7 separate regions of the Homo sapiens genome follow, and regions 1, 2, 4, 5, 6 and 7 are each linked to region 3. Evidence: promoter capture Hi-C in 16 types of primary human blood cells and fetal thymus (Javierre and others, 2016). All regions are on one chromosome and are shown on one strand. Each heading gives the region's core, a stretch centred on a gene start or on the middle of the fragment in contact. The rest is flanking DNA. Distances are from core to core; before and after follow the strand shown.

Region 1 (3,031 bases), core at 444-2,943, 400 kb before region 3:
ACTCCAGTCTTGTACAACTTTCTGTGGGAAAGCTGATGACCTCACCAATTTTCCCCCAAATTCTCGAGAGTAGAGGAGAGAACTTATATTATTTTATCTGTTCTCATTCTAAATTCTTCCTCTTGTATTAGTTCTCATCACCTACCCGATGACATAAAGCAGTTACTGTAATTCTCTGCATACAGCCTCACCCTGCACTTGCACATAGCTCTTCTTCCGTTCTTCTAAACATCACTCCTCCAAAGGTATGAAGTGGTCAGCTGGTTTCTCTGGAAAGCAGCTGAGACAGAAGTAAGTGGAGGAGGTTTGATGAGAAGGGGAAGGAGTAATCCCATGAGAGATAAAAAAGGAAGGAAGCAGAATTTGGGCAGGAAAATCCTTCGGACTGCAATGCAAATCTGACACCAGGGTTGGCCTTGAAAGCAAAGGGCAGTCTTTCCTACAGACAGAATTTGAGTGGGACACCTGGTGATAATATGTGTATGGACTCATACACAGTGATGAATGGCCTGTGCAGTTGTTCAGGGGCCTTTAAGGAAAAAACTGTAAGTTCAGAGACAGGAAGTCTAGTTAACTTTTAAAACGAATTCTATGCTAAATTCCAGGGATATCCAATCTTTTGGCTTCCCTGGGCCATAATGGAAGATCAAGAATTGTCCTGGACCACACATAAAATACAAGAACACTAACAATAGCTGATGAGCTAAAAAAAAATCACAAAAAACTCTCAGTGTTCTAAGAAAGCTTATGAATTTGTGTTGGGTCACATTCAAAGCAATCCTGGGTCATATACAGCCCACAGGCCATGGGTCAGACAAGCTTGGTATACTCCTCTAGCTCTGGCTCAACTAAACTCAAAATTCCTTTCTTCTCGCAATAAAACCTGGCACTTGATAAGAAAAACATTGGCTTTCATAACTATTATCTCTAAAGTTGACATCAATTTTTTTGCAGCTGAGTTCTTCACTATTCTCTGAAGGGGCTAAGGGAGTAAGAAAGATTGCCAGGAATAAAAAGTACTTCTGACTTATTTTAAATCACTATCTTGCAGGAATTAATTATATGATTTTAATTATGTGAAGTTTAAATTCAGGCAATATTAATCAACATTTATAAAAGTCAGAATAGAGATTACTTTTGGAGGCTGTGGTATTGTGATACATTAAGAATATAAGAAACATATATTAGGTCTTCATCCCCATTTCCTGGCACATAGCTCCTAAACACTTGTAAAATCCTGGATGATAAAGGCAAGAGGAATGTCTTTTGTTATCTATATTAATTATTGTATATTATTTCATCATATGTGAGTTTGTTTTCATGAAGTGACTCTTGGAGGCTGGTGGTTATCAGAGGAATCACATGGTTGATTACAGGGTTGGAACTTTCAGCACTCCCTCCCTCCCCCAACCTCTGGAGAGGGGAGAAGGGCTGGAGATTGAGCTCAGTCACCAATGGCCCATGATTTAGTCCAGGGTTCCCCAACCCCCAGGCTGTGGACCAGTACCAGTCTATGGCCTGTTAGGAACTGGACTGCAAAGCAGGAGGCGAGCAGTGGGTGAGCAAGGATTCCCGCCTGAGCTCCGCCTCCTGTCAGATCAGCAGCAGCATTAGATTCTCGTAGGAGTGTGAATCCTATTGTGAACCGAGTATGCAAGGGATCTAGGTTGCGTCATCCTTATGAGAATTGAATGATAAATGTAATGTGCTTGAATCGTCCTGAAACCACACCCCCCATCTGTGGAAAAATTGTCTTCCATGAAACTGGTCCCTGGTGCCAAAAAGGTTGGGGACCACTAATTAGTCAATCATGCCTACCGAATAGAAACTCCATAAACCCCCTAACTGACAGGACTTGGAGGACTTCAGGTTGGTGGAAACACAGACCTGCTGGGAGGGTGCAGCATGTGGAGCAGGACGGAACCTCTCAGCTCCACCCTCATACTTTGTCCTGTGTATCTCTTCATCTGGCTGATCTTAAGTGGTATCCTTTAAAATAAACTGCTAATTGTAAGTAAAGCACTTTCTTGAGTCCTGTGAGCCATTCTAGCAAATTATCAAACCTAAAGAGAAGGTCATGGCAACCCCCAATGGATAGCTAGTTAGCCAGATGGACAGGTCACAGTTTGGGACTACTGACTGGTGTCTAAATTTGGTTTCAGCCTTGCGAGGCTGAGTCCTCAACCTATGGGGTCTGCACTAACTCTGGGTAGTTAGTGTCATGAGTAAATTGTAGTACACCCACTTGGTATCTGGAGAGTTGGAGAATTGCTTAATGTGAGGTAAACTCCACACATTTGGTGTGAGAAGTATTTTGAATGTATGAATTTTTCTTTCCTTTTAGGGGTGCAGTGTACAAATTGGGCAGTTGCAGGAGGGAATCATAGGCTGCTGCTGGGATGTGCTATGACTTGGTCTATGAATTAGCTACACTCAATTAATATGTGGAAGACAACTCTTCAAGCTGTACACTTAAGATGAGTGTACTTTTTGCATTTAATTGTATATTCTTTCTATAAAAATTATTGTATGAGTTTCCTATTGTTGTAACAAGTAACCACAAATTTAGAAGCTTAAAACAACACAAATTTATTATCTCACAGCTCTGGAGGTTATAAGTCTGAAATGGGTCTCGAGATGTTGGGAGGGCTGCATTCCTTGATGGAGGCTGTAATTTTCTAATTTTACTATTCACTTATCTTTCAACAGATGCTCAGTGATTGTCAGCCACTAAAAGCCTCTAATTACAACCTATCTGCACTTCTAATTCCACCCTATTCTCCCCATGCAGGTAGATGACTAGGTTAGGCTTTTATTTTCAAGAAGGCTAAAGAATAAGGTACATTCAGCTTGTTAAAGGCATATTCAACTTATTGATACTATCCTGTTGCCTATACATTTACAGACATTCATGTGACTATCATTATTATTAGAGAGAATGTTCTAATCATTCTCTCTCTATAAAGGTGTTTTCTCAGGGCCCACTGTATGGTTAGAAATTGGAAAAGACCTTCCAGTTTCCTTCACAGAT
Region 2 (2,763 bases), core at 76-2,575, 360 kb before region 3:
TCTGACTGTGTAAAATAGTCTTGGTAGTAAAACAGTTTGACAATGAGAATGGTTTTGTATTTTTATGGTGGTAGGAAAACACAACAGAGAAACCTGTCACAGAGAACAAAGGACAATGAAATTTAATCTTTCTTGTTCCCTTTGCTTTCATGTGAGTCATCAGAGAACCCCAGGTCTTTGTTTACTAGATTTTGATTCTGCTCCATGATTGGCATCAGTTAGAAGGTTTTACAGCAGGATTAATCTTCAGAGAACTTGAGTTAAAACAGCCAATCCAAAAGATTACATATTGTGTGATTCCATTTATATAACATCATTGAAATTGCGAAATTGCAAAATTTCAAAAATGGAGAACAGATTAGTGGTTGCCAAAGGTTAAAAAATTAGGCAGCAGGGCAGAAGGGAATGGATATGGCTATAAAATAGCAACATGAGGGATATTTGTGGTGATAGAAATGTGCTTTGTCTGGACTGTGTCAGTATCAATATCTTAGGTTGATATATTGTACTATAGTTTTGTAAGACGTTACCATTAGGGGAAACTGGATAAATGGTACAAGAGATATTTCTATATTATATCTTTCAACTACATGTGAATCTACCATTATCTTAAGAAATTTAATTTAAAAGGGTTTTACAGTACGACATGTCAAGCACTGTTAGGCCAAAGTATTTGCTTTATGGGTTTTAATTAAAGCTGTTACACTCTTAAATGAAATCTACTATTTCTGATTTCAGATTTTTCTTATTTTGTTTTGACAGCAGGGATTATATGACACATTTCTTTATGATCTATTTTCCTCCTAGGAAACAAGATAGCAAAAGATATCTAGTGATACTTTCTCAATGTAGATGTAATTAAATTGACTGCTTTGATTAAAAGGAGAAGAGTCCTCAGTTGGGGGAACAGGGAAGGTCATAGGCTTCAGTATAGACTCTTCAGGTGGCATCAGTTCACCACTTCTAAGAATGTTGTAAATGTTCTACAAAGTTTACACAAAGTAACCATCCCCTGACCTGGCAGCTCTATACTTTTAACTGCTTGTTGCAGAATCCTGGCTGTCCTGGAATGCTGTTCCTACCTGCTCCAACATAGGTTTCTTCCCTTACGTTTCTTTTATTTCTAGATTTGCCCTTCCCTCATTTTATTATTTAGCCTACAACCAGTGCCTAGCACACAGTAGGCCTTTAACACGTGATTTCTTCCTTCCATTTCGGCATCTCAGCCTCTCATTCACTCTACCCTCAAAAAGAGCCTAATTGTGACTTAGATATGAAAAAGGGTTATCATTGAGTTTTGAAGTGAATTTAAATATAGTAAAGATGCAGTCCTACCAACTGCTAAATCTTGAGTAGCATTCATAATGAATTAAGTTTTAACATTTTTCCTGTTTTGTTGATTGATAATTCGCTAAATTCAGGAAATAGCTGATAAATATATACTATGGTTGGATGGGAGGGAGTATAGGAGAAATAAAGGTGAATGAGAAACAAGTCTTTGCTCTCAAGAAACTTATAGTTTTGTAGGGTTAAGAGACAAATAAACAAGTATTAGTAACTAAATAAGGCTACAACCTCACATGGGGACTGGCGCCAGGCTGACACTTGGAGTAAGCGAAGTGGGAGGGAAGAAGAAAAACAACACAGGGACAGTGATAAATGACAACAGTTCTGCCTCAGTGTTGGGAAGGCCACAAGGAGAGGGTCTCTATGCAATCCCTGCTACTTTCCCCTATTCCCAGTTGGTAACAGTGTCATATTGTTTTTTTAAGAATAGTAAGAAATTTGAATTTTTAGATATAATCACTGATTTTTAAAAGGTCACATTTTTATTAAAAGTTTTGGTTAAATACCATGAGTCTGTTGATGAAGAGTTAAATTCTATAAAATATTTCAAGAGATTTATTCTGAGCCAAATATGAGTGACCATGGCCCGTGACACAGCCCTCAGGAGGTCCTGAGAGCATGTTCCCAAGATGGTCAGGGTACAGCTTGGTTTTTATATATTTTAGGGAGGCATGAGACATCAATCAAATACATTTAAGAAATACATTGGTTTGGTTCAGAAAGGCAGGACAACCCAAAGCAGGGGCTTCCAGGCTATAGGTAAATTTAAACATTTTCTGGTTGACAATTAGTTGAGTTTATCTCAAGACCTAAGATCAAAGGAAATGTTCAGGTTAAGATAAAGGATTGTGGAGACGAAGTTTTATTTTGCAGAGCTCTCAGATAGCGGACTTCAGAGATAGCAGGTTGTAAAATGTTTCTTATGAGACCTGAAAGAGTGCCTGGCTCTTAATTGATTATCTCCTGGATCTGGAAAGGAAGGAAGGAAAACAAAGGGGAAAGGGAATTCTCTATAGAATGTGGGTTTTTCCCACAAGAGACTTTGCAGGACAGTTCCAAGGTATGGCAAAGAAATATATTTTAGGGTAAAACATTTTGATTTTCTTCCTTGTTATGCCTGAGTCAGACTGGAAAGTAAGTCACGTTATACAGGGTTAAATAAAACTCATCTGATGAGAATTTATGGTTTGTAGGGCATGACTCCCCAGACCCCTTAGAAAGGAATTTGGGCAAGATAAAAAAAAATAATAATCAGAGCTTAGTCCTCAAGCTAGACAGAATGATGTCACAGGGTACAGAGAGGTATAAGAAGGAACCTGAAGTTAAGAGGTGGGATCAGGGAAAGAAAGCTTCATGAACTTGGTAGCATGTTGAGTTTGACTGTGGTGTGTTGGGACAGTTAGAATTTTGGTAGGT
Region 3 (3,029 bases), core at 266-2,765:
AAGTGAGCCCAAAATTTTTTTAAAAAATGAGTATAACAGTAGCTTAGTATGAACAAATCCAAGGATTTTGAGAATTCCTAAATATATGGGGACACTGTTTACTTGCTTTAAGGATTGACTCTAAACATAGGCAAAGAAGATAAGCACTTGAGGGCCTGATTTAAAGAGTCCCGAGAATAGCTCTGATGAAAATCATCTCTTTTTCAGACTCATGTTAGATTGAGAAATCCCTACCAGTAGCCTTTGGAATATTAACCACAAACGTGATATTTCTGGGAGACTCCATGAAGCCTCCATTAATCGTTAGTATCATCTTTATATTAGTTATCTGCTTCCCAGCAGAAAGCTGTGTAATGAAGGAACGAGAGCCTGGCCAGATAAGCAGTGCTGTGGGTGGAGGAACAGATCAAGAGTATGGATGTTGGCCAGGCACAGTGGCTCACGCCTGTAATCCCAGCACTTTGGGAGGCCGAGGCGGGCAGATCACGAGGTCAGGAGTTCGACGCCAGTCTGGCCAACATAGTGAAACCCTGTCTCTACCAAAAATACAAAAAATTAGCCGGGTATGGTGGTGTGCGCCTGTAATCCCAGCTACTCTGGAGGCTGAGGCAGGAGAATCACGTGAACCTGAGAGGCGGAGGTTGCAGTGAGCCGAGATCTCGCCATTGCACTCCAACCTGGGTGACAGTGGGAGACTCTATCTCAAAAAAAAAAAAAAAGTATGGATGTTACCTAGGAGTATTGCAGTGTGGGCCCCTGGCTGCCTTAGGTGGGGTGAGGGTGCAAAAATCAGGCCTTAAAAAGGGAAACGGGGACTCATCATCAGGGTGGACGGAGAAATGGTTTGCCCCCACATACACCTGATACCTGCTCAAAGTTGGCACTTGTCCTCCTTCCTTCTCTCTGTTCTCCCTTATTGATGTCCTTTCAGTCCTGCTGAGGCCAGCCCATGCTAAACATCACCCTGGTTCTTGGGTCTTTGTTCAGCATCAGTAGCAATATCATGACAATAACTACCAATAATAAGCAACAAATACCATTTTAATACTTTCTGGTGAGCACTGTATCCATGTCATTTCCTTTAAATCTCAAATCAACTCTTTTCTGATTGCAATCAAACCTGTTTTACTGAGGTCTCAATGTGGCTTAGCTAGGAACTGAAGCGTATATACAGTCTACACAAGGCTACATTATCCTTGCCCTCACATAGGGAGGAAGTACAACATAGAAAATGACCCCTTGGCAGAGATGGACTAAAGCAAAATCTGCAAAGACTTTTTCTTTAAAAGGCTGGCAGGGATTCTGGAAAGAACCACTAACTGCCTTGTCTGACTCAGCATCAAGATGGAAAAATATACAGAGGCTGTTGCCTTCCCCACAGCCTAAGTCAAATCCACCTGCTTGCTCTGAGGCTGTCTGGGAGGCCACACATCACCATGCCCTTTCCTGGAGTCAATTCTTGGTCCCATGTCATTAGCCCCACCCTCGAAAGAACTCTGGGAATGGGGTTGCCTTGGAGTCCCCGGTTCCGTGTGGCTAAAGAGTGAGCCTCTCATATCTCCATGCTGAATTTCCTCACTCATTCACAACCCTCCTTTCCATTTCAAGAAATCTTTCTGTTCCCACAAGCCTGGGAGGGCCTTTGAGTGGGGCATATTGGGTAAGTTTGAAGGAGTACTGCCAGTGAGACCTTCAAAAGACTCTGTGTGAATGGGCTGGTGTTGGTGGGAGGAAACAGGGTCACAGATTCCCCTTCCCTTCCCCCTTGTAAGATGTGTCATCAGTTAAATATAGGCTCTGGCCCTGTGGACGTTTACAGGCTAAGACAGCCCGCCCTGACTGGGGCTCACAGCTTCTGAGAGGAGGACACTGGGATGTCTTCAGCCCATTTCACGTGGGCTGACTGTTTCCAAAACACTCCTGGTGGGTCAGCGAGCAGAGGAAGTGTTACCATGTGATCACTTTAGAAACACCCACCTAATGACGCACTAACACGGATTTGCCCTCTGTTTTTCACATTTGATCATTCCTGACACTTTGGCGAGGAAACAAAACCCTATTTCTCTTAGAAGTCACTCCTTCCCTGGATGTGAAAGAGGGCAGTGGTTTCCCTGTCAGTCCTCTTTTAGGGAAAGATCTGGGTGAGCACATGACCCAGCTCAGCTGGTCTGGGGCTGGACACAGACACAATTGTGAGAACTTGAACTGACTCACCAGGAAGCAGGTGGTTGGGACTAGGTACTGTTGTCTATTTCAGTGCTAGATATTGCCTTTAATGAAAAACTAGCCCCAATCAGAAAAAAGCCAACACCACGCTCTGCAATACTAAGTTGACTCACCTGTTGAAATGCTGTTTATTAAGCAAAACCAGTATCCTCAGAATTCCAGCTTTCACTTTCAAGTTTCTTATGTGGGATTTCATAGTATTGGGCCCAGTGATGTGTACATCAATGGTTTGGCTTGCTGTTTATGCTACTTATTTACTCGAGCAGTCACTCTGGTGTGTTCCCATGGCTTTTCTGAAAGTATTAGAATACAGCTCCCAAAGAATGTGAGTGCTATTGGAGAAATAAAATACATGGAAATCATATGGCATCCAGCAATTGCTATGCCTATCTTGAGATAGCTGATCCCTAGATAAGCTTGGTAGTTGTGTTACCAATGATGTCTTTTCTTAGTACACATAGATTGTACTCAAGGAATAGCAAAATGTTACAACACTGATTCTTCCTCCTATAGTTAATGGCATTTTAAAAGAGTTATGCTTGACTAAAGACATAGTTTTTAAAAATGCAAATATTGAGTGCTTTCAATTCCCTAAGCATGGTGTTTTCTGCTTTACCTGCAATGTATTAATTAATTTTCACAGAAAACTATGAGGCAGCGGCTACTATCATCCCCATTTTACAGATGAGAAAACCGAGACTTAGAAAGGTTAAGTAATCTGCTCAGGCTCACAGTTCATATCCCATTTCTAAGAGACATTTTTTTTTCATTCTAATACTTTTGAAATTCAGTATGTATTTTAT
Region 4 (2,700 bases), core at 62-2,561, 380 kb before region 3:
ATATTATATATAATGTATATTATATATAATATATATTATATATAATGTATATTATATAATATATATTATATATTATAATATATAATATACATTATATATTACATATTATATATAATATATTATATATTATATATTACATATTATATATAATATATTATATATTATATTAAATATATATTTTATATATTATATATTATATATTATATAAAATATATATATTATATATTATATAAAATATATATATATTATATTATATATTATATTAAATATATATTTTATATATAATATATATAATATATAATATATAAAATATATATTATATATTATATATAAATTATATATATTATATATAAAATATATAATATATATTATATATAAATATACATATTATAGATATCTATTCTTTATCCACTCTTCTTGGTTGATGGACATTTAGGTGTTTTTTTAAAATGTAGTATAAACCAGTAGTTCCTAACAAGAGGGATTTTCCCCCAGGAGACATTTGGCAATGTCTGGCGACATTTTTGGTTGCCAGCACTTGGGAAGTGGTGCTACTGGCATCTAATGAATAGAGGCCAGCGGTGCTGCTAAACATTCTACAGTGTATACGACAGCACCCCTGCCCCTCCCCCAAACAAAGAATTATCCAGCCCAGAATGTTAATAGTGATAAAGTTTAGGGACCTGGTATAGACAGAGATAAAGCACACATGGTTAAAGTTAACAATTGGTTAATCTAGGTGATGATGCCATATTCTAGACTTTGAAATTTTTTGTAAGAGTGAAAACTTTCAAAATAAAACATTTAGGGAGAAAGCACGTTTAAAAATATATAATAAAAGTCTGAGAGAGAAAAAAAAAAGTTGAACTGATGAAAAAAGTAGGCCATACACAGGAAAACAATGGCAAAAGCAGTCCTTTTTATTTTCTTCACTAACCAATGAGAATAAAGACAGGAAATTGTGCTCAATCTACTTGTTAGGCAACAAAAAAACACAACCACAGCAATAAGTGGGGGAGATTCTCACGTGTGATTTTTAGAAAGCTTCTTTTATGGTTTTACATATTTTCTATCAGGATTTCATTGTGTGACAAATGGACTGTATAATTTTGTCATATTAAAAGTAAATCAAAATGAGCAAACTGGGAAACCAGCAGCTGGGTTTTTTTCCCCTACAAGGCACAGAAGACCCATAGCAGAAAAGTAGGCCTCAGAAAATGATTATTAAAAATTTCTTTTGGGCCAGAACAGTGGTTCATGCTTGTAATTCCAGCACTTTGGGAGGTTGAGGGGAGAGGATTGCTTGAGCTCAGGAGTTCGAGGCCAGCCTGGGCAACATAGTGAGACCCAGTCTCTAAAAATAAATAACTAAATTAATTAATTAAGAAAAATTTTTTCTTGAGCAGTTAATGTTTATGATAATACAGTATGATTGGTGTGGTACTTGTAAAACTGCAGTTTTATCTTTTTTTATTTCCATCCGGCCCTGACTGGGTAAGGACAAGGAGGTATTGGAAAATGCAAACAGGTTCATGAAAAAAGTCAGTTTTACTTGTGGTAGAACTCAATATAAGGATGTCAAGCTTTTATTAGAAACCCAACCCGCATGCCTTGTTTATTACCTTCTTCTGTCTCAGCTGTTCTTTATAGTTTTTACTCTTTCTTCCTTTTCCAGCATTATTTTATTGTGTAGAGTAATACTAGAATGGGTTGTTTTTTTTTTGTAATACATTCCGCTGTATTTTCCATGCCCAGTAATTCTTATTTCTCTGCAGCTCTCTGCCTGGAAAGACAGGCATCCAGTGCTTTGTGGGTCTGGTAGGTACAGCCGAGAATAAAGAAGTCAGAACTCAGCTTTGAATTTCAAAAGACTTTTTTCAAGCATAGAAGACTCAGAAGTCTTAACTGCTAGGCTTTCAACTGAGAAACGAAAATAAAATCCAAAGGTCCCCCCTGCAACTGACTAAAAGGACTCCCCTCTTGGCTAAGGAGATCCTAGAGAAATCTTAAAAGCTGAATTCCCAGCCATGATGGATTGGGAGGTCAGACATGCCCTGTTATACTCCCTCCCTTGCTACTTGCCATTATACTTCCACTCCTAAGTGTTAAACAGAAACAGGCCCTTTCTGAAGACTTGCTGGACTCTTCTTCCTTTTTGCAGTTTGACACAACAACTGACCATCATTCCTTCCTGATAAGAGGCCACTAACCATGGACTGGTTCTGGCCGGTTTACAGAAGCTGCACACAGGATGCTTCTGTGTCCTCTGTTTCAGCTTTTGACGTATAGAGCCTAATTTTAATACATTTAAATGTTAAGTTTCCATCCTAAAGTGAACATAGGATGTAGGTAACATACATGTTAGCTTGCTGTGCATGAGTGCACTCCCCTTTTGTGAATATTCATAGCTCCTCCTATAGCCTGTTAAATGTATATACTTAGCTGACCCTTTCAGCCTAAATTCCTGTCTTACCCTTCCCTCCCTAGAAGTACCTGCTTCTGGTTTCTGCCAGAAGCTACCCTTCCCAGGCTGTGGGATGGCCAGCCTGCAGGCTGCAACCCTTTATAAGAAATAAAGCTCTCCTTTCCACATTCATGAACCTCGTGATTCTTCAGTTGGCACAACAAAATGATAGAGGCACTTGAGGAAGAAAAAGGTCTTTTTAATTCCAAATTATTCCCTTTAGAGAATCTAGAACA
Region 5 (2,950 bases), core at 4-2,503, 420 kb before region 3:
CAACAGTGAGCCAGGCAAGGTGGTATATGCTTGTCAGCTACTTGAGAGACTGAGATAGGAGGATCCCTTGAGACCAGAAGTTCAAGGCTGTAGTATGCAATCATCATGCCTATGAATAGTTACTGCACTCCAGCCTGTGGAACATGGTGAGACCTCATCTCTAAAAAACAAACAGACAAAGAAAACCCTAGTCTCTTCGTGTTTGTTTGTAGCAAGCTAAACAGAGGGTCATCATCATTTCTTTTGGATGTTGTGTGAAACCTGATATAGACAATCCTCATCAGCCTTAGGGTAAAAAGAAAATCACTAAAGTAATTACTTAATATTTTGGATTCCATTTTGGGTTCTGCTTTAAATAAGGAATTTCAGAACTGCAAGGTGTATTGGGAGATGTCATAGAGGAAAGCGTAGAAGAAAGAGAAAGAAAGTTATGAGGAAGTTAATTTAGCTTCTTTAAAAAAATAAACCTAGTGTGAAATTATAGCCCTCAGTGGTTTTGGCTCAGTTTCAGGGTAAAGGGAAGGTAAAATTTAGCTGTCACTGAGGGAGAAAAAAGAGGATGGGAGGAGAGTTTTTCTAACACCACATTTGCTATTTAATTTGAGCTGCAGTAAGTTTCAAGGGGAAAATGCACAAGGCTGTTAATGGGAGGTCAAGTGGTAGAGTGGGAAAGGCAGTGGTCTTGGAGCCTGGAGCCTCAGTTTGAATTCCTGGTTTTACTGCATTTGTGACATATCTTGAGTATCAGTTTCTTTGTCTCTAAAACGAAAATAGTATTCTTCTCATAGGCTTGTTGTTAGGACTAAATGAAATAATACCTGTAAGTCACCTGAAATGGGTGGCACTCCACAAGTTCTAGTTTCCTTTCCTCTGACCCCTCTGCTGTAGAAGGTACTCATGGCAATCTACACTCTGTAGTAGTGGCTTTCAACTTTTGGTCTATGTCAGAATTGCCTGTGGAATTTTTTTCATGGAACTTATGCCTGAGGCCCAACTTTAGGAATTCTGATTTCCTAAGCATGCGGTAGGGTCTATATACTTGCACTGCTGCTTTTTAAAAAAATGATCGGTAATTTCTACCAAAATTAAAGTTAAAAACTACCGATAAATTGCTTGACTCTCCACTGCTTACAGTTCAGACACTGATGCAATAGCCTAGCATTTAAGGGCCTTCACAAACTGGCCCTGACTTCCCTTTCCAGAAGGATTTCCCCTCTGCTCTCCTTCACTACAGACATACTGGCCTCTTGTTGGTCCTTGGAGGATTGTCAGCTTTTGCAACCTTGACTTGCCTATATAACCCCATGGCCTAGAACATTCTCTGCTCCAGCTCTCTGTTTCTCTTATTCTTCTTTTTTCTTGAAGGCTTAGCCCTCCCTGTTATTCATTGTACTTTTCCCCACTTCCATGATAGACCGTCTGCCACAGAATATCTCTACCATCTATTTGCACCAGGCATTTACAAATAGTCACATATCGTGTTGGATGTTTTAGGGTTGGTGTTTTTTGGGGTCAGAAAAGTATTCGTGCTTCATAATTTTTTCAATCCTTTCTGATGCTTAACATGGTGCTTGTGCATAGTGGGTACATTATCAATAGCTGATGGAATGAAGTAATTACTGTTATCATGAGGAGGCTCCTTATACAGGAATACCTTGTTTTACTGCATGTTGCTTTATTGTGCTCCTCAGATATTGCTTTTTTGTTTGTTTGTTTTTTGTTTTTTTGTTTGTTTTTTTTTTTTTTTTTTTTTTTTTACAAATTATAGGTTTCTGGCGACCCTGCATGGAGTAAGTCTATCAGCACCATTTTTCCAACAGCATGCACTCACTTTGTGTCTCTGTGGCACATTTTGGTAATTCCTGCAATATTTCAAACTTTTTCATGCTTATTATATCTGTTATGGTGATCTGTGATCAGTAATCTTTGAGGTTACTATTGTTATTGTTTTGGGACACTATGAACCATGCCCATCTAAGTCCACAAACTTAGTAAATATCTGTTGACTGCTCCACTGATTGGCTGTTTCCCCATCTCTCTCCCTTTCCTTAGGCCTCACTATTCTCTGAAACACAACAATATTGAAATTAGGCCAATTAATAACTCTACAATGGCCTCTAAGTGTTCAAGTGAAAGGAAGAGTCGCACATCTGTCACTTAAAGTCAAAAGCTAGAGATGATTACTCTTAGTGAGGAAGGCGTGCTGACAGCTGAGACAGGCTGAAAGCTAGGACTTGTGTGCCAGACAGTTAGCCAAGTTGTGAATTCAGAGGAGAAGTATCTGGAGGAAATTAAAAGTGTAACTTTAGTGAGCACATTAATGGTAAGAAAGTGAAGCAGCCTTATTGCTGCTATGGAGAAAGTTTTAGTGGCCTGGATAGAAAATCAGGCCTGGCATGGTGGCTCGCACCTGTAATCCCAGCATTTTGGGAGGCCTAGGTGGGCAGATCGCCTGAGCTCAGGAGTTTGAGACCAGTCTGGGCAACATGGTGAAACCCAAATAAAAAAAATACAAAAAATTAGCCGGCTGTGGTGGCATTAGCCTGTGGTCCTAGCTGCTTGGAAGGCTGAGGTGGGAGGATCTCTTCAGCCTGGGAGGTCAAAGCTGCAGTGAGCCAAGCTTGTGCCACTGCACTCCAGCCTGGGTGACAGAGGGAGACCCTGTCTCAAAAAAGAAAATCAAACCAGTCATGATATTCCCTTAAGCTAAAGCCTAATCCAGAGCAAGGCCCTCAACACTGGGGCAAGACTCTCCACCAGCAAAAAGATTGTGACTCACTGAAGGCTCAGATGATTGTTAGTATTTTTTAGCAATAAAGCACTTTTAAATGAAGGTTCGTACATTGTTTTCCTAGACATAATGCTATTGCATACTTCATAGACTACAGTGTAGTGTAAACATAACTTTTATATGCACTGGGAAACCAAAAAAATTGTGTGACTCCCTTTA
Region 6 (3,016 bases), core at 187-2,686, 440 kb before region 3:
AGTGGGACATTCGAATGGAAAAATTACCTTCATATCAGGTTTTAAGAGAACAGTGTCCTAAGAAATATATGGCAAGAATTTATAAAGAATTCATGGACTATTATAGTATTTTTTTATGACAGGGTGACCAGCTGGCTAGATTAAAAGAAAGGCATGGGGCAGAGCCAGCCTTATGCCGGGAAGGCTCGGGCAGTTGCCTACGGACAGTTTGCCCGCTGCTGCTTTCTCGTTGGTTTTGCCAAATATTCCTATGTTCCTGGCTCTTTGATTGCAGGTGCTGGAATGTGGCTGTTAAGACAAGAAGAGTAACTTGGGAGGAAATTTCTTTATTTTGTTGATTTCTTCCATAATTCTATATTGTTATCAGTTATTTCTTGAATTAGTTGATTGGGCAAACCCTAATCTAGAATGGGGCTCTTGGAAAGCCAAGGATGAAGGCTAACAGTAGATAAAGTTGGGACTGGACTGGAGCCACGTCTCAGTGAAGCAGCCCAGTAGGAGACCTGGGATGGTCAAAAATTGTGTGTGGGTAATGAGTGTCTGGATGTATTTTGAAGACAATAGGGACAAGGATTGAACTTATGTGTTTTCCTTTGCCTTCCTTTGTCTGGCCTTTGATAGGTACAATTTAGCCTTAGCTAGCTCGGTTGGTGCACATTTGGATCTCCCAGGGAACTGTTAAAACTGCATGCCAGGCCAATTTAATCAGAGCCTCTGGATTTTTACAGCTCCCAAGTGATTCTGATGTGCAGCCAAAGCTGAGAACCACTGAGCCAGCCTTTTTCTTAAAAGCTAATTTATTCTATTATCAGTATACAAGTTAAATAGTCTTTCTTAGAAGCTTCCTTTTTATGTGAAGAAAACAGAAATCTACGTGCATTCAGGAATTTTGTTCTTTTACAATATTCTTTCCTCTGAATTTTTTTTCAGAGGTTGGGGAGCAAAAACCTCTTCGATTTGAATTGACACTTCCCCTTAATGTTTCTAATCTCTTAGCTCAGTGGTTAGTAACCATAGTTTACATCAAAATCACCCAAGGGATTTTCAGAATTTTAAAAACTTTTTCTTAAAATTCCAAAAGTAAGCCTCCCTTGTGTTTACTGCTGGGAGTTAGCCAGGATTAACTTCATAGAAGGCTTGTTATAATGGGAAGCCTCACAGATGGGAAGTAGCTGTGGCTAACTGGAGGCCATTATCCCTGCCCCATTATTTTCTCATCCCAGGATAAATAATCCTACTTGGCAGCAAGTTTGAGGATGAATGATCTTAGATTATATTCAGTATAATCCCTTTTTACATAATTGTTTCTGTTATGACAATGAATAAAGCATCTGCTTGTTTAATTCTCAACCACATTTAGATTCCTTGAGGGAGAGGAACAATGTGTTATATATGCTTCTCTTGTATCTGCTGCAGAGTTCAGCATCCTTCTTGATTTATCATAGGCAATGAACACTTGGGGAGCTAATTAAGTCAAATATAAGTAGATGGCTTTGACAGTTCAGTAACAATTCTTGGAAACCTGAGGCATACATGCATTTCTTAATACTCCTTAGAAAATGCTCATTAAGTGAAAGATGACCAGAAATGTACCTGCTAACTTCCAACTCTTCAACACGTCACATTGTGATGTCAGTGAGGGCTTAAAGGGAATATGGTGGTTGGCTGATTTCACATCCTCCTGTTACCTTCCTCTTCCATTGGCTCATAATAAGTTGGTGATTGTCCAGCAATTGCATAATACAGCATGACATGTGTGTCTGTCAGTGAAGAGGAAATGGTATGGGGTGGCAACTTTAGTGTCGTTATTCTGAAGGGCAACATTAGTTAAGGCAAAGAGCAGCAATGTATACTTTTGGAAGTCTATGCTTTGCAAAAGCCATTTTGGACATGATATAGCAGGTAGGAATATTTTCTGTCCTTGCATATGACTCTGCAGGGGTTCCAGCTCCATCCTTCAGGAAGTAGAAAGTTCTTTGGAAGTGAGTTCCTTCACCAAATGTTTTGCCAAAAAACTTAGGCCCATTTCTGAAAGCTTCCTTGAAGCACCTCTGGATTTATGAAGGAGGCACTGTTTGCTAAGACCACACATGTTTTATTGCTTTCAGCACAAGTAAAATGAAAAATGTTGGAAAATTTGTATACATGCTTGCCAATATGTGGTGCTTTAGAAATTACAAATAATATTTCTTGTATTGGCAAGATAGAAACTCCGTATCTTTTAATATAATACTATTTTTGGCTTCTGGAGTTAAGTCATTTGAATTTCCTGTGGGAAATCATAGAGTCAGGTTTACCATGACAGTTTAAAATCTGCTACACACTAATGGAAATAACTTGGTAACTCACAGCAAGTACAAACAGATATGAAGCAGCTGCTATATGCCAGGCACTGTGGCCCTGGGAAACAAAGATAAGCAAGACACAAATCCTGCCCTTAAAACTCAGTCTAGACAATGTCAGTGTTTAATTCTGTTGGGAAAGGCCAAGTCGTCACCTTCTTTCTTCTTCTTCTTTCTTTCTTCCTTCCTCTTTCCTTCCTCCTACCTTCCTCCCCCTTTTCTCCTCCTCCTCCTTCTTCTTCTTCTTCTTTCTCCTCCTCCTCCTCTTCCGCCTCTTCTTCTTCCTTCATCATGTCTGTTACAGCAACAGGCATTTCCATTCCTACTGCAGCTACCTAAGGTTTAGTTCCTAATGATTTTATGCCTGGATTATTGTGATCCTTCCCTAATGAATTCTTTTTTACTTACCATCTTTTCCTGGGCTTTCCTTTAATCTAGCCAGCTGGTCCATCCTGCACTTTGTCACCATATTAATCTTCTTAAAATGTAATTGTAATTCTTTCACTTCCTACTCAAAAGCCATCAACAACAAACCCTGCCTTTTATTTCCACTAAATCTCTGTCCACTTTTCCCACCTTGCCTCTGCTACTCTTCATGAACCCTACATTCTAGCCAGACTGGTCTTATTCATCAACACCTGAGTATGTCTCTTGCATTCCCACTTCTGCTCTTG
Region 7 (3,033 bases), core at 357-2,856, 470 kb before region 3:
GTTTCCTGGGGCTGCCATAACAAAGTACCACAAACTGGTGGCTTAAAACAATGGAAATTTATTGTCTTACAGTTCTGGAGGCCGTAAGTCTGAAATCAAGGTGTCGTCAGCACCATGTTCTCTATAGCAACTCTAGGAGAGAATTGTTGCGTGCCTCTTCCAGCTTCTGGGGGTTGCTGGCCATCCTTGGCGTTCCTTGGCTTGTAAATGCATCACTCTGTTGTCACATGGCTGTTTTCTGTGTGCCCTTTTCTTATAAGGACACCAGTCACATTGGATTAAGGGCCCACTTGTTTCAGTATGACCTCATCTTAACTAATTATATCTACAATGACCCTATTTCCAAATAAGGATGCATTCTGAAGTGCTAAGGGTTAGGACTTCTTTTTTGGGAGATCTAATTCAATTTATGACAAAAAAAGTTAACATAAATTGTTCAAAAAAGAATGCTATGGCGAAGTAAGTTTGGAAAACACCATTATAGGATTCTTTACTGTAGTACTTTGGCGGGGCGAAGGTCTTTAATTTGTTCATCATTTAGAGGAGTTGCCAACCTGGGATTATTTTGTAAAGTTTCTCAAAAACCTGTTTGATGATGGACTTCTTTTTACAGGCTGACTGTGAGATCAGCACTCAACGTGGAACACCTGTTCTCATGCCTGATGTGAGGCAGTGGCACCCTAGCACATCCCTCCCTGGTTCTTCTGCTTTCCCCTGTGACCTGCAGCGTCAACTTGAGACAACTTTTCTTCTCTGAGCCTGAGTTTCCTTACTCTAAGATAAGGAAAATAATATACTTTCCCTATGGGTTTGATGTGTGGACTCATTTTTGTTGTTGTTTGTTTTGAGATGAAGTCTTTCTCTGTCGCCCAGGCTGGAGTGCAGTGGACCAATCTCGGCTCACTGCAACCTCCGCCTCCCAGGTTCAAGTGATTCTGCTGCCTCAGCCTCCCGAGTAGCTGGGACTACAGGCACACGCCACCATGCCCGGCTAATTTTTGTATTTTTAGTAGAGACAAGGTTTCACCATGTTGGCCAGGCTGGTCTTGAACTCCTGACCCCAGGTGATCCATCTGCCTTGGCCTCCCAAAGTGCTGGGAGTACAGGCGTGAGCTACCATGCCTGGCCGATGTGCAGACTAATTTAGTTTAAAATAAGTAGGCTGAGAAACACTTGATACAGGGCTTGGCATAGAGAGAAGTAGGCATTCATTTAGTAGTTAACTTTGTTATGCTAACCAGATGGTTCTGAATTTCTTGGCATTTTTATTGGGCATTTCCAGGATCTCAAGAATAATCCTTACTCAGGACAATTTTCACCAACAAGTTTTTCTTGTTCATCTTCCTCTTCCTTTCATCACTTCTTTTTCTCTTTAAAAGAGGGATTTTCTGTATGGTAGTAAGAATTTCCCTTAGGTAAATATTCAACCCAACTGTGGTTTTAATAAGTCTCCAGCATTAGCAAGGAATGGGTGGTTTACTCTGCAGTTCCTTATTCTGATCTTCCAACCCAGTGAGGGGAAGAGGATGTGATCATGCGACCGCCAGCAGAAGGGAAATTGTGAAAGCGACCTGCTGTAGAAAAGGCGGCCCACAGCCACCTCAGCATGCAGAGGAGGCCCAGCTGCTGAGAGGAGTTGCCTGAGAGTGACCTTTGCATCTGCCTGTCCAGCCAGCATGGAACCAAAGCGGATCAGAGAGGGCTACCTTGTGAAGAAGGTGAGCGAAGGTGCCACTTACCAGGGTGTCAGTGGACATGGGCTGGGGAGACTTGGGTTCAGCTCCACCGGCTACCTGCTCATCTTAGGAATGTTTCCTGTTCAACCAGTTGGGTTGAAATAGGGGAGCGTGGTAGCACATAGAATGTTGGAGTGGGGTTAGGGGAGTGGGGATACTCATCCAGCCCCGGCTTCCTTACAGTTTGATATTACGGGTCTGAGAATTCCAGATGGCAGGGCCTGGAAGGTGGGGATCTAAGCTAACTCCCTCCAGATTTAGAATATCCTTTTTAAGAGGCACACAGATGTGTTCTGTCAGAAGATATACTCCTCTTCTATGGAGGTTTCTTGGAGGGACTATTCATTTTTTATTTAAATTCCACTTCCCCTCAGTTCTTTTTTTGGGAGGCAAGGGGAAAAAAGTGATTAAAGAGTTGATATAATGATAGAGTAATTACGGCTTATTTCTTGGGCCATCTTCTTGGAATTGACACGTTTAAAAAAAACCTTATCTTTTTTTAATTGGGCTGAAATCTCTTCACTCACAATTCTTAGTAAATTTGCATAATGTGGCATCGAGGTGGTAGATGCACCATTTTAAAGATTAGGGTACTGAAAAAGGCTTAGCCTCCCTGGTGTGCATCATGAAAATTGAATTTTCTTAGTGCTGTTTGTCTTTCTTCGGATGCTGAGTGTGTGCTGTGTGGTTGTGAAAGCTCCCCGGGATGTGAATTCACACATAGGACTTGGTGTCCTGTGGGCAACACCTATATACACAGATATGCTCACACTAACCTTAGTGAGTGGATTGTTTCAGAAATGAGCTGAACGTAGTGCCTTCCTTCAGGTGCTTAGCTTTTTAGTTGAATGAACAGTGAATGTGAGTCTGTTTTAGGCTACTCATTTGTTTCACGTTTTAACCTACAATGTTCTACCTGTAAGGGGGGTTAAATAGCACACATTGCTGCCTGCTTCCATTTTGACTTCAGGCTGGAGGGACCCTAGGTCATCTGGCCTAATTCCTTCATTTGCAGAAGAGGAGACAGACCCAGAAGGCTCGGTGATTGCCCCAAGTCACATGGCTATGACAGTTGTGACCAGCCACTCCTTCTCTGATGCTTAGGTTTCTGATTCATGGCACTGAACTTTGTTCATTACTCCAGCATTTTCTTAAAGCAGATTTATTCCAAGTTAGGATTTGTAGTGTATTTGTGATGGTGAGAGCTATGAGTTGGTACTGGAGAATAAGTGGGCCCTCAGCTGCTAATCTCTGTAGCCAGCTGTGCTTCGAAACATCCTTTGGAAAAGACACACTT

Evidence for each region. Contacts are between HindIII fragments. The CHiCAGO score rates a contact against its expected background, and 5 or more counts as called.
Region 1: a fragment that was not itself captured here is called in contact with the fragment with the promoter of LINC01888 in region 3 in 4 of 17 cell types (total CD4 T cells, M2 macrophages, naive CD4 T cells and 1 more); the score reaches 5.7 in total CD4 T cells.
Region 2: a fragment that was not itself captured here is called in contact with the fragment with the promoter of LINC01888 in region 3 in 16 of 17 cell types (activated CD4 T cells, naive CD4 T cells, total CD4 T cells and 13 more); the score reaches 17.5 in activated CD4 T cells.
Region 4: a fragment that was not itself captured here is called in contact with the fragment with the promoter of LINC01888 in region 3 in 16 of 17 cell types (naive CD8 T cells, total CD4 T cells, naive CD4 T cells and 13 more); the score reaches 18.6 in naive CD8 T cells.
Region 5: a fragment that was not itself captured here is called in contact with the fragment with the promoter of LINC01888 in region 3 in 1 of 17 cell types (monocytes); the score reaches 5.5 in monocytes.
Region 6: a fragment that was not itself captured here is called in contact with the fragment with the promoter of LINC01888 in region 3 in 3 of 17 cell types (monocytes, naive B cells and naive CD8 T cells); the score reaches 9.2 in monocytes.
Region 7: a contact is called between the fragment with the promoter of PLEK here and the fragment with the promoter of LINC01888 in region 3, in 1 of 17 cell types (neutrophils). The highest score is 6.2, in neutrophils.

The regions. Positions count from the first base shown.
Region 1 is chr2:68,428,101-68,431,131 of GRCh38, forward strand. No RefSeq gene overlaps it. Among named protein-coding and RNA genes, the nearest start is that of FBXO48, 38 kb to the right of the region's middle. The HindIII fragment of the contact is 1,753 bases long and covers 818-2,570 here.
Region 2 is chr2:68,469,929-68,472,691 of GRCh38, forward strand. All of the region lies in intron 1 of APLF (aprataxin and PNKP like factor), which reads left to right. Among named protein-coding and RNA genes, the nearest start is that of APLF, 3.7 kb to the left of the region's middle. The HindIII fragment of the contact is 2,738 bases long and covers 1-2,694 here.
Region 3 is chr2:68,830,493-68,833,521 of GRCh38, forward strand. LINC01888 (long intergenic non-protein coding RNA 1888) reads left to right here and starts at 1,516. Exons shown (of 2, transcript NR_183895.1): 1 at 1,516-1,660. LINC01890 (long intergenic non-protein coding RNA 1890) reads right to left here. Exons shown (of 4, transcript NR_183884.1): 2 at 2,340-2,558; 3 at 868-1,013. The HindIII fragment of the contact is 9,437 bases long and covers 1-2,640 here.
Region 4 is chr2:68,451,760-68,454,459 of GRCh38, forward strand. No RefSeq gene overlaps it. Among named protein-coding and RNA genes, the nearest start is that of FBXO48, 14 kb to the right of the region's middle. The HindIII fragment of the contact is 539 bases long and covers 1,043-1,581 here.
Region 5 is chr2:68,411,482-68,414,431 of GRCh38, forward strand. No RefSeq gene overlaps it. Among named protein-coding and RNA genes, the nearest start is that of PLEK, 48 kb to the left of the region's middle. The HindIII fragment of the contact is 2,729 bases long and covers 1-2,618 here.
Region 6 is chr2:68,389,601-68,392,616 of GRCh38, forward strand. The region is part of intron 6 of PLEK (pleckstrin); the gene reads left to right. Among named protein-coding and RNA genes, the nearest start is that of PLEK, 26 kb to the left of the region's middle. The HindIII fragment of the contact is 1,194 bases long and covers 840-2,033 here.
Region 7 is chr2:68,363,676-68,366,708 of GRCh38, forward strand. PLEK (pleckstrin) reads left to right here and starts at 1,607. Exons shown (of 9, transcript NM_002664.3): 1 at 1,607-1,718. The coding sequence starts at 1,677. LOC101927723 (a long non-coding RNA gene) reads right to left here and starts at 2,729. Exons shown (of 2, transcript NR_187652.1): 1 at 1,740-2,729. RefSeq lists an enhancer at 1,567-1,646. The HindIII fragment of the contact is 25,233 bases long and covers 1-3,033 here.